Regions from separate parts of the Homo sapiens genome. Here region 2 is linked to region 1. The links are contacts of gene promoters, found by promoter capture Hi-C in blood cells and fetal thymus (Javierre and others, 2016). All regions are on one chromosome and are shown on one strand. The core of a region is centred on a gene start or on the middle of the fragment in contact, and the rest is flanking DNA. Distances in the headings are between cores, read along the strand shown.

The links. The method cuts DNA at HindIII sites, captures the fragments that hold promoters and counts their contacts. A CHiCAGO score of 5 or more calls a contact.
Region 2: the fragment with the promoter of PIGT here is called in contact with the fragment with the promoter of ZNF335 in region 1 in 1 of 17 cell types (erythroblasts); the score reaches 5.1 in erythroblasts.

Annotation. Positions count from the first base shown.
Region 1 is chr20:45,968,977-45,975,762 of GRCh38, forward strand. It overlaps ZNF335 (zinc finger protein 335), which reads right to left and starts at 3,227. Exons shown (of 28, transcript NM_022095.4): 1 at 3,146-3,227; 2 at 2,234-2,484; 3 at 475-715. The coding sequence starts at 2,434. It also overlaps the pseudogene FTLP1. RefSeq lists a silencer at 2,739-2,858 and enhancers at 3,629-3,848, 6,307-6,786. The HindIII fragment of the contact is 10,906 bases long and covers 1-6,786 here.
Region 2 is chr20:45,413,127-45,419,912 of GRCh38, forward strand. PIGT (phosphatidylinositol glycan anchor biosynthesis class T) reads left to right here and starts at 3,015. Exons shown (of 12, transcript NM_015937.6): 1 at 3,015-3,217; 2 at 3,391-3,568; 3 at 5,726-5,853; 4 at 6,169-6,269; 5 at 6,378-6,464. The coding sequence starts at 3,031. It overlaps LOC107985405 (a long non-coding RNA gene), which reads right to left and starts at 5,257. Exons shown (of 2, transcript XR_001754640.2): 1 at 5,088-5,257; 2 at 1-3,691. RefSeq lists an enhancer at 6,484-6,543. The HindIII fragment of the contact is 8,427 bases long and covers 1-6,786 here.

The sequences.
Region 1 (6,786 bases), core at 1,977-4,476:
TATGATTGCACCACTGCACTCCAGCCTGGGTGACACAGCTCTGGAGTCAGACTGTCTGAGCTCATGGCCCGACACCCCACACTGCTTGCTGGTGACAGTGGGTAAGTTATGTATGTCCTTGGTGCCTCATATTTTTCATCTGGACTGTGAACATTAACATCCTCTACCTTTTGGGGTTATTGGGAGGATTAAATGAGCTACTGTATGTAAAGTTTAGAACAGTCCTGGGCACAAGGTAAGCAATAACAGTTTATATTATTTATTGAGAGTCTGTCATGCCAGGCGCTAGGCTGAGAACTTTACAGTGTTGTCTCATTAAATCCTCATTTACCACCATGAGACAGGGGTGACTGTTCCCACTCTGCACATTCCACATGGGAAAGTAATCTGCCTGAGTTCACACAGCTAGGGTGGGCACAGCTGGCTGCCGGACACTGCAGGAAAACCCCTGTGGGGCTCCTCTGCCTGACTCACTCTGGATGAGGTCGGGCCCGATGGTGGACTCGATGATCTTGTCGATGGCCGAGCCCAGGTCCGAGGAGGAAGCTGTGCAGTCGGACACCAGCATGTTGGGGTCTGGGAGTGCACTAGAGTGCACAAGTGCTGGGGGACCGCCTGTCACCCCTGCCACTGGCCCATGAGACACAGACGATGAATCAGGGAGGTAGCTATTAGGCAGGGGGTCTGCGCTCGAGCTGCTCTCAGATACCTCCTCCTGAGGGGCATGAAACAGGGAGGGAAAAAGTTTAGCAGCTGGGTATGGGGCAGGGCAGCCTGCCAGCTCCCACTTGCTAGACAGAGCTCTCAGGCCCAAGGACATGGTCAGTGGAGCCACTCATGCCCTCAGCCCCACGGAGGACCAGTGAGAGAGGCCCTCCAGTCACAGAGTCCCCCAGGAAAAAGTCACAGGGTCCCTGGATCTCATCAGGGAATACACAAAAATAAGAGAAGGGACTCCTAAGCCACAGCCAGGGGGAGCTATTTTCTTTGGGCTTTTGCATAAATCGTTCCCTCTGCCTGAAACTCTTCCCAGCATCACCCTATGGCTAAATCTTACCCAGCCTTCTCACCACCATTTAGCTGGTACCTCTTCTAGGAAGTCAATGCTGGCTTTGAGGCCAAGTCAGGACTTCTTCATCCTCAGTGCTGCAGCTGCCTGTGTCCCCAGCACCACACCACTGTGGGGTTCATTGTGCCTTTTAACAGCCTCCATGCCAGACTGTGCCCTCCACAAGGGCCTGGACCAAACTTGTCTTTTCCTCTGCTGTATTTCCAGGGCCCAGCACACGCTGAGCACATGGTAGGCCCCCATCTCTGCTGAACTAATGAAACCCCAGGACCCCAAAGTGATGACCACTGCTGTGTACTTCTATCACGTGATATACTGAATATGACCATTATCTTGCATATAAGAATGGCTAATACTTACTGAGTGCTTACAATGTGCTGAGCACTGTTTTAATTATTAGCTTTGCATATGTTAATTCATTTCATCCTCACAAAAACTCTATGAGGCAGGTATATTTACCATTCCCACTTTACAGACGAGGAAACAGAGCTAGATGTTGGGTAGCTTGCTCAAGATCACACGGCTAGGAAGTGGCACAGCCAGGAGGAGATGGTTTACAAAATGTTTGCAAGAGGATGTCTGGTGGGAGCTCACAATCAAGCACCCTTGAAAGCAAGTATTTCTGCTTTACTTTAGCCGGGATACTGAGGCTCAAAGAGGTCTCCCAGTAAACTGGAGGCAGGACCCAGTCTTAACCCAGGGCACTTGCGTTTTTTTTTTTTTTTTTGTAGAGATGAGGTCTCGCTATTTGCCCAAGCTGGTCTCCAACTCCTGGGCTCAAGTGATCCTCCCACCTCAGCCTTCCAAAGTGCTGGGATTACAGGCGATGAGCTACCACTCCTGGCCTAGACATCTGCCTCTCAAAGTGTGAGGACTGTGGGTAGTATAGTAGCTAAGACCACAGCCTAGATTTGAATCCTGGCTCTGTCTGCACTCTGTACCTCGGCATCCTTTTCTATAAGATGTGGGAAAAAATGGTATGTGTCTTAGAAGGTATGAAGCTCAAATGAGAAAATCCATTTTAGGGGTTTGGCTTGGTGCCTGGCTCACAGTAAACCAGAAACACCAAGTATTAGCTACAAACAAGCCTTGTTTCCTCTTGGCTGTCAGGCACTGCTGCTCGCGGTCCTTGCCTCCACCCACGCCGTCCAGCCGGGTCCATACCTGAGAACGGCTGCCGCGGTCCGAGCTTTGCCCCACGCCAGAGTCATCGGCCTCTGCCTGCCCCGGGGCGGCCGCGGCGTCGCTGCTGTCGGCGGACACGGCTTCTGAGGTGCCCACACCCAGGCCGCTCTCAGAGGGCTCCTCGGGCCGGCCAGGCCCAGGGGCCGCGTCGCTGCTGCTCTCCACCTCGTTCTCCTCCATCTGATCGGCGGGCTGCCTGACAGCGGGGCGTAGGGTCTGGGAACTTCACTCTGAGAAGAGAGGTGACCGTGGCTGGAACAAGTGGGCCATCTCCCCAGCCCCGGCAACCACGGCCACCCATTTGCACCCCTGCGCCCATTTTGCAGATGCGAAGATTGAGTCTCCGACGGGGCGGAGCTTCCTGGTGTATTGCGAGGGGAGCTCGGGAAAAACTTGACGGAGAAGCTGTGCTTCCCAGGCTAAGGCCCTTCCCGGGAGGGTGGTCAATGGCTGGTAATCTTGACCCTTTCCCTCGCCCCCACGATTCTCGTGGAGCGTTCCGCTCTGTGAGCCCCATCCGGGCCCAGTGGTTCAGCCCTTCGGCCCCCGCGTCCCCCCGGGTTGCAGGGCCGGTGGTACAGCCCGCTGGCCCCCTGGGTCAGTGGTTCGCTCCCCCCCGGTTCCCCTGCGGAGGCGGCTGACAGCGACGGTCTCGGGGCCTGGCGATTTGGGGCTGTCCCCGGCGCTGCCTGTGCTCCAGGCCCGACGCCATCTTGTGGTGGCGCCGGGTTTCCGCTCAGGCAAGTGCGAGAGCGACTAAAGGGCCTGGGACCCCGGGGCCCTGTTCGGACAGCCCCGCCGGCCTGGGACCTCGCCTCCGGGTATCCCCGCAGTGTGACCTCACTCCACGGCAGGGTACGGTGGGGCCGCCTAACTCTACCCGAAGCTCACCCGAGGCTTTCGTAGCCACGTTCCTCTCTGACTCCGGCATCGACGAGGTCGCCATCCTCTTTCCTCCGCTGCGGAGGAACCCATCGGCCTATTGTAGGCCGGAACTACTTCCCCCGCTGGCCCCGGGAAAGACACATTTTCAGTGTTCCGGAAGGTCGCTCCGAGGCCTCAAAACCATAATCGGGTCTCAACAGACTCTGGGACTTTATACGTCGCCCGGTGTTTGGCACTGAGCCCACTATGGTTTGGGGACTACTTTATCTCGGCGGAGTGTTACGTAGGAAGTGGTTGTGACGTCATTCTGGTCCCTTCCCTAGGCCGCAGGGTTGGGCGCGGCGAATGCGCGCCCCGCTCTCTTGGGGCGTGGCTCCCAGTGGGGGGCGTGGCTCCCGGTGGCTTGGCCGCGCCCCTCCTACAACAGCCCGGAAGAGCGTGTGGCCGCGGGCGACTTTGGCTTGGCCAAAGAGGAATTCATGTTGTCAGTCATTTTACCTGACTCATTACTTATTACTTAGCGCGCTGCTGCAACCCAATCGAGCTCTGCCCGTTAGGTTTGATGTGTTTTGTTGGGAAGGGAATGTATAATTATTGTACAGATAGGGAAACTGAGGTCTGGGTATGGGAAGGGCTGGTCCAAAATCACATCCAATAAAGGGACTCAGGAGCTAAGTACGGATGGCAGGAGTCGGGGAAATGGAAAGAAGTTAATGCTTGTCCCTTAGGTTTGTATACATATTTGTTAACATTAATAGAGCTGAGGCCGGGCGCTGTGAGTCACGCCTGTAATTCCAACACTTTGGGACGCCAAGGCAGGAGAATCGCTTGATCCCAGGAGTTCCAAACCAGCCTGGGCAAAAGAGCGAGACCCCATCTCTACAAAAAAAAGAAAAAAAAGAAAAATTAGCCAGGCATGGTGGCGCGTGCCTATAATCCCAGTTGCTCGGGAGGCTGAGGTGGGAGGATCGCTTGAGTCTGGGAGGTTGAGGCTGCAGCGAACCGTGATCACACCACTGCACTTCAGCCTGGGCGACAGAGCGAGACCCTCTTTCAAAAAATAAATAAATACAAGTCAACTACCTATCCTTTAAAAGTGGAGAAAGAAAAAAAATTTTAATTAAAAGTCAGCTGCCCTTAAGGTATGTCCTTCCTCCGGAAATGTCACCTTCTGTTTTAAGACTTTTAGCAGTTTGCAGTGGAAGAGCACAAGAGGGAGTAAGGCGCTCTGGTTTTTGTCCCTAAGTCTCTGTAGTTCCATAGGCTATTTTCCTTAATTGAAAGATACAAATTTTGGGGGAAAAAAATCTCAAAAAAACTCCTAAGCAGGCTGGGCGCGGTGGCTCACGCCTGTAATCTCAGCACTTTGGGAAGCTGAGTCGGGCGGATCACCTGAGGTTGGGAGTTTGAGACCAGCCTGATCAACATGGAGAAACCCCATCTGTACGAAAAATACAAAAGCAGCTGGGCGTGGTGGCGCATGCCGTAATCCCAGCTATTCAGGAGGCTGAGCCAGGACAATAGCTTGAACCCGGGAGGCAGAGGTTGCGGTGAGCCGAGATCACGCCATTGCCTTCCAGCCTGGGGAACAACAGCGGAAACTCTTGTCTCAAACAAACAAACAAAAAGTCCTAAGGAGAAGACCTATTAATAAGGAGAAAAGGTCCGGGCTCGGTGGGTCACACCTGTAATAACCAGCACTTTGGGAGGCTGAGGCCGGTGGATCACTTGAGGTCAGGAGTTCGAGACCAGCCTGGCCAACATGGTGAAACTGTCTCTACTAAAAATACAAAATTTCACTGGGTGTGGTGGCGCGCGCCTGTAGTCCCAGCTACTCGAGAGGCTGAGGCAGGAGAATCGCTTGAAGCCCAGAGGCGGAGGTTGCCGAGATTGTGCCATTGCGACAAGAGAGAAACTCCGCTTCAAAAAATAAATAAATAAATAAAAATAAAAAGGACAAAGGGTGCTTTGAGCTGTTATTTGTGTGCACTTGTGTATGAGGGGATTCATCTGGTCCTTTTCTTAGGTAAAGTTTTCTTTCCTAGGTTTCCCTTTTGGGTTGAGGGAATGGAACAGGAGGCCTCTGGATAGGTTAGGACCCTCATCCCCTATCCCTTGCAACCAGCAGGACCAGGCCCCAGAGCAGCTCTGAAGAGCTAGGTCAGCACTGGCATGATGACATGTTGGTTTTACTATCTCCAGGCAGTTTTCCCGTGTGGACCCCATTCCTCAGCCCTACAGAAGCATCTGCCCCCTCATGCCAGTAGGGTAGTAGGGTGCATCCTACATCTGACCAAGTCACCTCTCCCAAGTTTGGGGTACTCCGAAGTAGCCCCACAGTACCCTCATTCCCTTCCCCACTAAGACTGAAGCCTCCTAGGAGGTAGAGTCTGCAGTGAACTATGAGTGCGCCACTGCACTCTGGCTTTGGTGAGAGAGTGAGACCCTGTCTATTAAAAAGAAAAAAAAAAGACTCAACCTTAATCCTGGCCTTTGCCACAGCATCACAAGATTGCAGAATGTCATGGTACAGATGAAACAGACTCATCATGAAACCGAAGAGGAGCCCAAGGCCCAGAGGGGGAAAGCTAACAGCCCAAGGTCTCGGCTCCTTGGAAACAACATACCAGAACCCTTCCATCACAAAGACAAGCAGGCAAATCCTTGTATTCTGCCTGTGAATCCAGGGTTTGTTCCTCCAGAGAGTGCAGTCTAGTTCTGGTCTCAGCTTTATTTTTTTGTTTTCTCTTTAAAATTTGTTTTATCTTTTAAAAAATTGTTTATAAAGATGGGGACTAGCTATTTTGCCCAGGCTGGTCTCGAACTCCATGGCCCCAGCTTAGAGAGACTTATGGAAGCAGTGAAGGGGCTCTGGGTCAGAGGACATTAAAGTGGACCATTGAGAAAAATGTAGAAGAGCCAAGAGGGAAAGAGGAGGGAAGATGCCAGGCAGTGTGTGTGCTTTCTGAGTCATGTTTTGTTTTTTTTTTTAATTTGCTTCCACAGAGCTTTATTTCCATTTGGATCAAGGCTTGGAAGAAGGCTCCAGGGTAATTAAAAAGCTGCCTAGTGGCTGGAGGGAGAGGCTTAGGCAGAAGCCCTGATACTTTGGGAGGGGCCCTTAAGGCTCCCAGTCGTGCTTGAGGGTGGGTGAGCCTTTCCAAGAGAACCCCACCCAGGCCAGCCTGGGGGCCAGCCACCCTGGGAAGGTTGGTCAAGTGGTCGCCCATCTTGATGAGTTTCACTTCCTCATCTAAGAAGTGACTCTCTAGGAAGTCACAGAGATGGAGGTCTGTGCGGGCAGGACTCAGGGCTTGAAGATCCAAAAGCGGCCTGGTTCAGATTTTTCTCCAGGGCCATGGCGGCTTCCGTGGCATTCAGGGTTTTTAAAATTTATTTATTTATTATTATTTTTTTTTTGTCACCCAGGCTGGAGTGCAGTGGTGTGATCTCAGCTCACTGCAACATCTGCCTCCCAGGTTCAAGCGATCCACCTCAGCCTCCTTAGTAGCTGGGACTACAGGCGTGTGCCACCACACCTGGCTAATTTTTTTTGTATTTTTAGTAGAGATACAATTTCACCACGTTGGCCAGACTGGTCTTGAACTCCTGACCTCAACTGACCCACCTGCCTTGGCTTCCCAAAG
Region 2 (6,786 bases), core at 1,765-4,264, 560 kb before region 1:
TAGAAAGAAAAATATCCCAGGTTCTCATCATACAGCTTAAAAAATCATCAAAATAGTACCAAGATTGTATCATCTACCCACCACATATTTTTAGTGGAAAGACATTTATGATAACTCTTGAAAGAAAGAGTAGACTATAAAACACCATATTCAATATGGTCACTTTTTAAAAAAATGATAATCTTCAGATTCACCATTTGATTATAGTGTTGCATTAAAGTTAAACCGTGGTTTATGGCAGCCCAGAGCCTAGCTGTCTGGTTTTTGAGGCCACACAGTGCCTTTGGAGGTGGGAGGAAGATCTGGAGCCAACTCTAAGTCAAGGAGCCCAGCTTTCAGTCTCCAAGCTACAGCGTGGCTTCTGATATTTGCACGGACTTGTCATAGGGTGGACATCCTGACACACTTCGGAAAGGAGGCACCACAGCTCAGAAAAAGTTTCCTTAGAAGGCTTACACTGTAGCAACCCCAGGAGTGCACAGAACTTGACACTGAACAGCATGGCAGAGTAGGGAAAATACAGAACTGTGCTATGATGTCATCTTGTTTGTTCATTCATTCACACATTACTGAGCACCTACTATGTGACAGTCACCTTGCTTAGGCAACAGAAATACTAAGGTGACCATGAGCTCTTCCAGGAGCAGACACAGACACAGGTAATGGAAACAATGTGATGAGAGATGTAGCAGAAGTACATGAAGCCTGTAGACCACTAGAGGAGGAGAAGGTAAGTCTTCACTAGAGGTGGCTGGGTCCTGAATGATGGAGATGGGCAATTTCAAAAGGAAAACAGAGAAGTACAAAATAGTCATAATGATGGCAGCTACCTTTAAAAAAGTATTATTTTGAGGTTTGATAGTGTAGACTATAGTCCTAGCTCCATCACTCATTGTAATCTTTATTATCTTAGTTTATGTACTTCTTAATAATAACACTCAAGCAACCCTATCACTTAGGCACTATTATCTACATTTACATATTAGTGCCTAGGTGACAGGGTTGAGTGTTACTATTAAGCACTTGCTACATTCCATATCCTACATGTACATAATTTCTCATCTTAACAACAACCTTGAAAGTAGGTTTCTTCATTATACAAATGAAGAAAAGTGACACTTGGGTTGATCATGCTCATATGGATTAAAGGCTGGCATAGGGATTTGGACTCCTGTCTTTCTGACATCTAAGCCCATGGCCTTCCTAATATTTCGTGTCTAATGGGGCAGGAACACTGAATGCAGGCAGAATGAAGGCATAATGAGATAAAGACATCTTTCTGACATTTCCTTTCTGGAAATGTCTGGTTGGTTGGCGCATATCTTGGCAGACCTGCCTGACACCAAATTGGCTCTTTCTAGAAGTGTGGTCATGAGTGTCACCAAGAGACTGTTCATGAAATCCTTCATGAATGTGTTTCCCATAGGGCAGGTGGAAAAACTAAAGCATGACTTTAACTTTGGAACTCCGAAAAAGTCAATAAAAAGACAAGCCAGTAAACAAAGGGGTGAGGGTGCAGAAGACTTTAACAGACCTTTCACAAAAAAATAAAAATTAAATTAAAAAATAAATGGCAAATAAGCACATGAACAGATGCTTAACATTTTTAGTTACCAGGGAAATGCAAATTAAAACCACAATGAGCAAACACTACATACATACCCAAGTGGTCAAAACTAAAAAGTACAAAAAATTAGAAACTTCAAATGCTGACCAGGATGTGGTACAATGGAGACTCATAGTTTATGGAAACATAAAATGATACATTTTGGAGAAAGGTCTGACAGTTTCTTATAAAATTAAACATACACCTGCTCTCTGACCCAGCAATTCCACTCTTAAATACCTGGCCAAAGGATATGAGAAATATACGTCTACAAAGGAGCTTGCACAGACAGCAGCCTTGTTAATAATAACCAAAAACTTTAAAAGTGCCCATCAAGAGTTGAATGGATAAATTAATAATACTACGCAGTAATAAAAAGAATTGTGGATACATGCAAGAACATGGATGATTCTCAAAAACATTCTTCCCATGAGAAAAAAAAAAGCCTTACACAGTATACATACTATATGATTTCATTTATATTTAGTTCTGGAACAGATTAATCTATTGTGGGAAAAAATCAGGGTACTAACTGCCTCTGGAAGGTGATAGAGGAGCAGGGATTGACTAGGAAAGGGTATTGCTAATTTTCTGGGGTTTTAGGAATGTTCTGTATCATGATAGGAGTTCGGGTTACATAGGTGTGTGCATTTGTCAAAACTCAGTGAATGTGTACTTTGGATTTGTGCATTTCACTGTATGTGAATTTTACATCAAAATGCAATCGAATACTGAACTCTAGTTAATTATATGCATGCTTAACTACTTAAAGGAAAGTGTACTAATGTCTGCAATTTACTTTGAAGTGCACCAAAACACAAGATGGAATGATGGATGTATAGACAAATATGTGGTAAAGTACAAGTATAGTATAATGTAAATAGTAGAATCTAGGTGGTGGAAAATAGGTTTATTGTAACAGGTGCTCATTCTTTCAATTTTGTTTGAACATTTTCGTAATAAAAGAACCACTTATTTGGGGGTTTTGCAGCAAATGGAGACACTAGAAGCTAAGAGGGGCAGGAGGTTCCTCTTACTTTGGGAAATGCAAATTAAAACCACAATGGTTTTCCCAAAAGTAATTGATCTTTTTCAGTCAATGTTTCCTCAACTATCAAATGGGTAAAATGGCAGTGAAGGAGCTTCATATTATTAAGCATTTCCTGGTGGGTGGAATACGCCATGAACTAGGTGCGGCCTCAAGCTGGTTACTCGCCCTGCCTACTCCCTCTCGTGTCCTCCCAGTACCCCCTTAGACCCACCAGCTCTGAGGGAATCTTCGCGACCTGCGCAGGCGGTCGCTCTGATAACCGCATCCCGGTTTCCGGGACGACAGCGGAAGTCACTTCTCACACGCCTTTCTTATTGGATACCGGCTTTTCATGGGGCCGAGCGCCGCTGGGTAGGCGGAAGTAGCCGCAGGCATGGCGGCGGCTATGCCGCTTGCTCTGCTCGTCCTGTTGCTCCTGGGGCCCGGCGGCTGGTGCCTTGCAGAACCCCCACGCGACAGCCTGCGGGAGGAACTTGTCATCACCCCGCTGCCTTCCGGGGACGTAGCCGCCACATTCCAGTTCCGCACGCGCTGGGATTCGGAGCTTCAGCGGGAAGGAGGTGAGGGCGCGAGATCTGACCAGGGAAAGATTTCCGTAGTGCCTGCTGGCTGGCCGGCCGTGGGATGAAGGCAAACTTTGGGGGCGGGGCCTAATTCCTGGGTAGAGTTCGGGATCCTGGGTGTGGACCCCGACGAGGTGGGGATCGTCACTCACCTGCTCCCGTTTCCCCAGTGTCCCATTACAGGCTCTTTCCCAAAGCCCTGGGGCAGCTGATCTCCAAGTATTCTCTACGGGAGCTGCACCTGTCATTCACACAAGGCTTTTGGAGGACCCGATACTGGGGGCCACCCTTCCTGCAGGCCCCATCAGGTGCAGAGCTGTGGGTCTGGTTCCAAGACACTGTCACTGAGTGAGTGCACACCTTGGGCCCTGTTGCAGGCCATGGAGGGAATGTGGCTGGGAGAGTGTTGTCATCCTGCCACTGCTCTTGGGGACAGCACTTCCAGTAGGCAGCGATTCCATGGGGGTAGAGCTGGCATTGGAAGTAAGAAATGTTACCACAGATGAATAAACTTCCCAATCCTAAAACTTTCAGACCTGAGGTAGCACATGCATATCCCTGGAGAGGCAAATAGCAAACAATTAATGCTTATTTGGAGGTAAGGCAGTAGAAAACTGGCAACTGGATAACCTTTTAAAAGGCATTCATTAATATTTTTTAAATGATAATAAATACCACGAAAGCCAACCATAACATATCTGTGGGTTACAACTGGCCAACAGGATGCTACATCACAGTGTTAGAGGAACTGCTTTTGTTTGGGAGGGGGCAGGTCTAGTTACTGTGCCTACTACAAACCGCTATTTCCCAGTGGCTGCTGTGGCTATCCTGTTTAGAATAGAACCTTTCTGTGCAGTGGTTGCAAACAGGTCTACATGGGCCACACAGGTAAGGAATGAATAAAGGTATTTTTAAAATTGACAAACACAGGAATGAGAAATATATCTCATTTTCCTCTTAATCCCACTATAAGAAATCAATAGTGCAAGTATGATATAACAAGTTTTAGGGCAATAAAAAGGAGCAGCAGGAATTGTGGCAGGCTAGAGAGTTTGTGTGACATTCTAACGAGGACAGCTCTGCCACTCAGCTTCTATGGATTGTTGCCATGTGGGAATAGAGGCCTAATGTGGTCAGAGTCAAATGTTTCTAAAAATTTTTTGTAGAAACAAGGTCTCACTATATTGCCCAGGCTGGTCTCGAACTCCTGGGTTCAAGCGATCCTCCTGCCTCAGCCTCCCAAAGTGTTGGGATTACAGGCAAGAGCCACCACACCTGGCCTCATTTTTCAAGAGATACCAGAAATCTGGAATTTAATGTGAAAATTGGCAAATTCAAATATCAGCAAGTAATTTAAAAATTTTTTGAGTGCTGTGCGGGTCAATGTTGTGCATACCAAATGAAGCATGTTTATGGTTTGAGTAGAGCTTTCCGGCTTCAAGTTTGCCATTTTTATTTGAGGCTTAAGGATTGGAGCAGTTGAAAAGCTCTGAACATAGAATTATCAAAAGCTCCTGGACAACACTAAGGAATAAGGAATAAGCAGTAACTCCCCAGCTTGCCAAGACTTTCTCTCTTGCCTCAACTCTGGCTCCCCTACCCTTTCCTGTCTACTCTGCTGTCACTGTCTTCCCTCAGCCCGTAATTGCCTGAAATGTGGAGCAAATGCTTAGAATTCTTTCTAGTGCTTATTAAGTTTTATGCTTTCTCTATTACTGAGAGCAAATCTCTTTTGATATTTCTCCAAGAAAAGAACATTAATTTAATTTGATGTTTTTATGAAATCCTAGAACAGTTGTTTTTCCCATGTTCAGTGAGCTTTTTTGGATATAAGACTTCTCACCATGATAGTAGAATCAGGACTTACCTTTATTCCCAGAGTATACACAGGGTAGTATGCATTGTTTTGCCCAGCCCAGCACATTCAAGGAAGATCAGTGAGCTCATTTCAGCTCTGATACATGAGGCGCTTTCCATGGTGTCAGGGGAAGTACATAGATGACCCAGACTGGTCCTTGTCCTCAAGTTGCTTACAGCCTAGTTAGGGAGAAAAGGTGGTCAGGACACGATGCTGCTGCCACCTAGCCATCTCCCAGGAGGGACCTAGTAAGATGCTTGGATGGTCAGAACCGTGACTGCACAGAGGAGACTGTGCTTAAGGAGGGCAGGAAAGGCTTCGTGGAGGGGAGGTAAGCACTGGAGCCGGATCATGAAGGTAGGCAGAAAGAAGTTAGCAAAGGCTTGCAAGGAAGGAAGAATCACCTGAGCAGAGACCCATGGGGATGCAGAGATGTCCAGAGGAGAGTGAGGAAGAAGGGGCTGAGTAGGATGAGACCCAGCAAGTGGGCTGGCTGGGGGCAGCAATGTTCCAGCTCCATCAACTGGCCCGTCTAATAGTTAAGAATACAGCCTCCTCCTATCATAGGTTTAGCAGCCAGCTGTGGACTTTGAAAGAGGGAGCAGAGGTAGCCCCAGGACAGTGAGTGGATTTGTGTCTCTATCCAGTGTGGATAAATCTTGGAAGGAGCTCAGTAATGTCCTCTCAGGGATCTTCTGCGCCTCTCTCAACTTCATCGACTCCACCAACACAGTCACTCCCACTGCCTCCTTCAAACCCCTGGGTCTGGCCAATGGTGAGATAACCCCTACAGCCCTTTCCTTCTTCCTCTTACCTCCTGCCCAAACCTTTGCCTCCTTTTCCCTCAGTTTCCTGCTTCCTCAGCCTGGGCTAGATCCTAAGTCCCCTGTGTGTGCAGGCCCCCAATACTGTGCCATCTCTGCATGCCTTTTCCCAAGGAGAGAAGGGAGTCCTACTCCCAGTTGGGACTGTCCAGACTGTGGTGCTAGAGGTGGTGTGGGGAGCAGGAGGGTCATTCCCATCTCTGGAATGTGGATCCCGAGGGGTCAGAGCCCAAGGCCCACCCCAGACAGACCTCTGTCTCCCTCAGACACTGACCACTACTTTCTGCGCTATGCTGTGCTGCCGCGGGAGGTGGTCTGCACCGAAAACCTCACCCCCTGGAAGAAGCTCTTGCCCTGTAGTTCCAAGGTGAGGCCGCAGAGCCTGGCAGCCGGGGGCGGGGGGTGTATAGAGAACCTGCGCCCCATGCCAAGTGCTCCATACAGGGCTTCTCTTATCTCTTTCCATCTCCTCCAGGCAGGCCTCTCTGTGCTGCTGAAGGCAGATCGCTTGTTCCACACCAGCTACCACTCCCAGGCAGTGCATATCCGCCCTGTTTGCAGAGTAAGTCATGGGGAGTAGAGGAAGCTGCCATCCAGGGGCTCAGAGAAGGTACATGTAAAGCATGTGGTCAGTGTCTGGCTCAGGCTGAGTGAGTACTGAGTGGTAGATGTGATGACGGTTATTCAGGGCATTGGCCAAGCACCAAGAAAACAGTGGTTGCCTAGCAAGCACTGAATAAATATTTGTCATGGAAAATAGTGGTTCAGAACAATAGCTATGCGGGTGCAATTGCTAGCTCAGTCACTTGCCAGCTGGCGTAACCTTGGGTGAATCATTTCATTCCCCTGAGCTTGGTTTCCCACCCTGCCACATGACATTGATA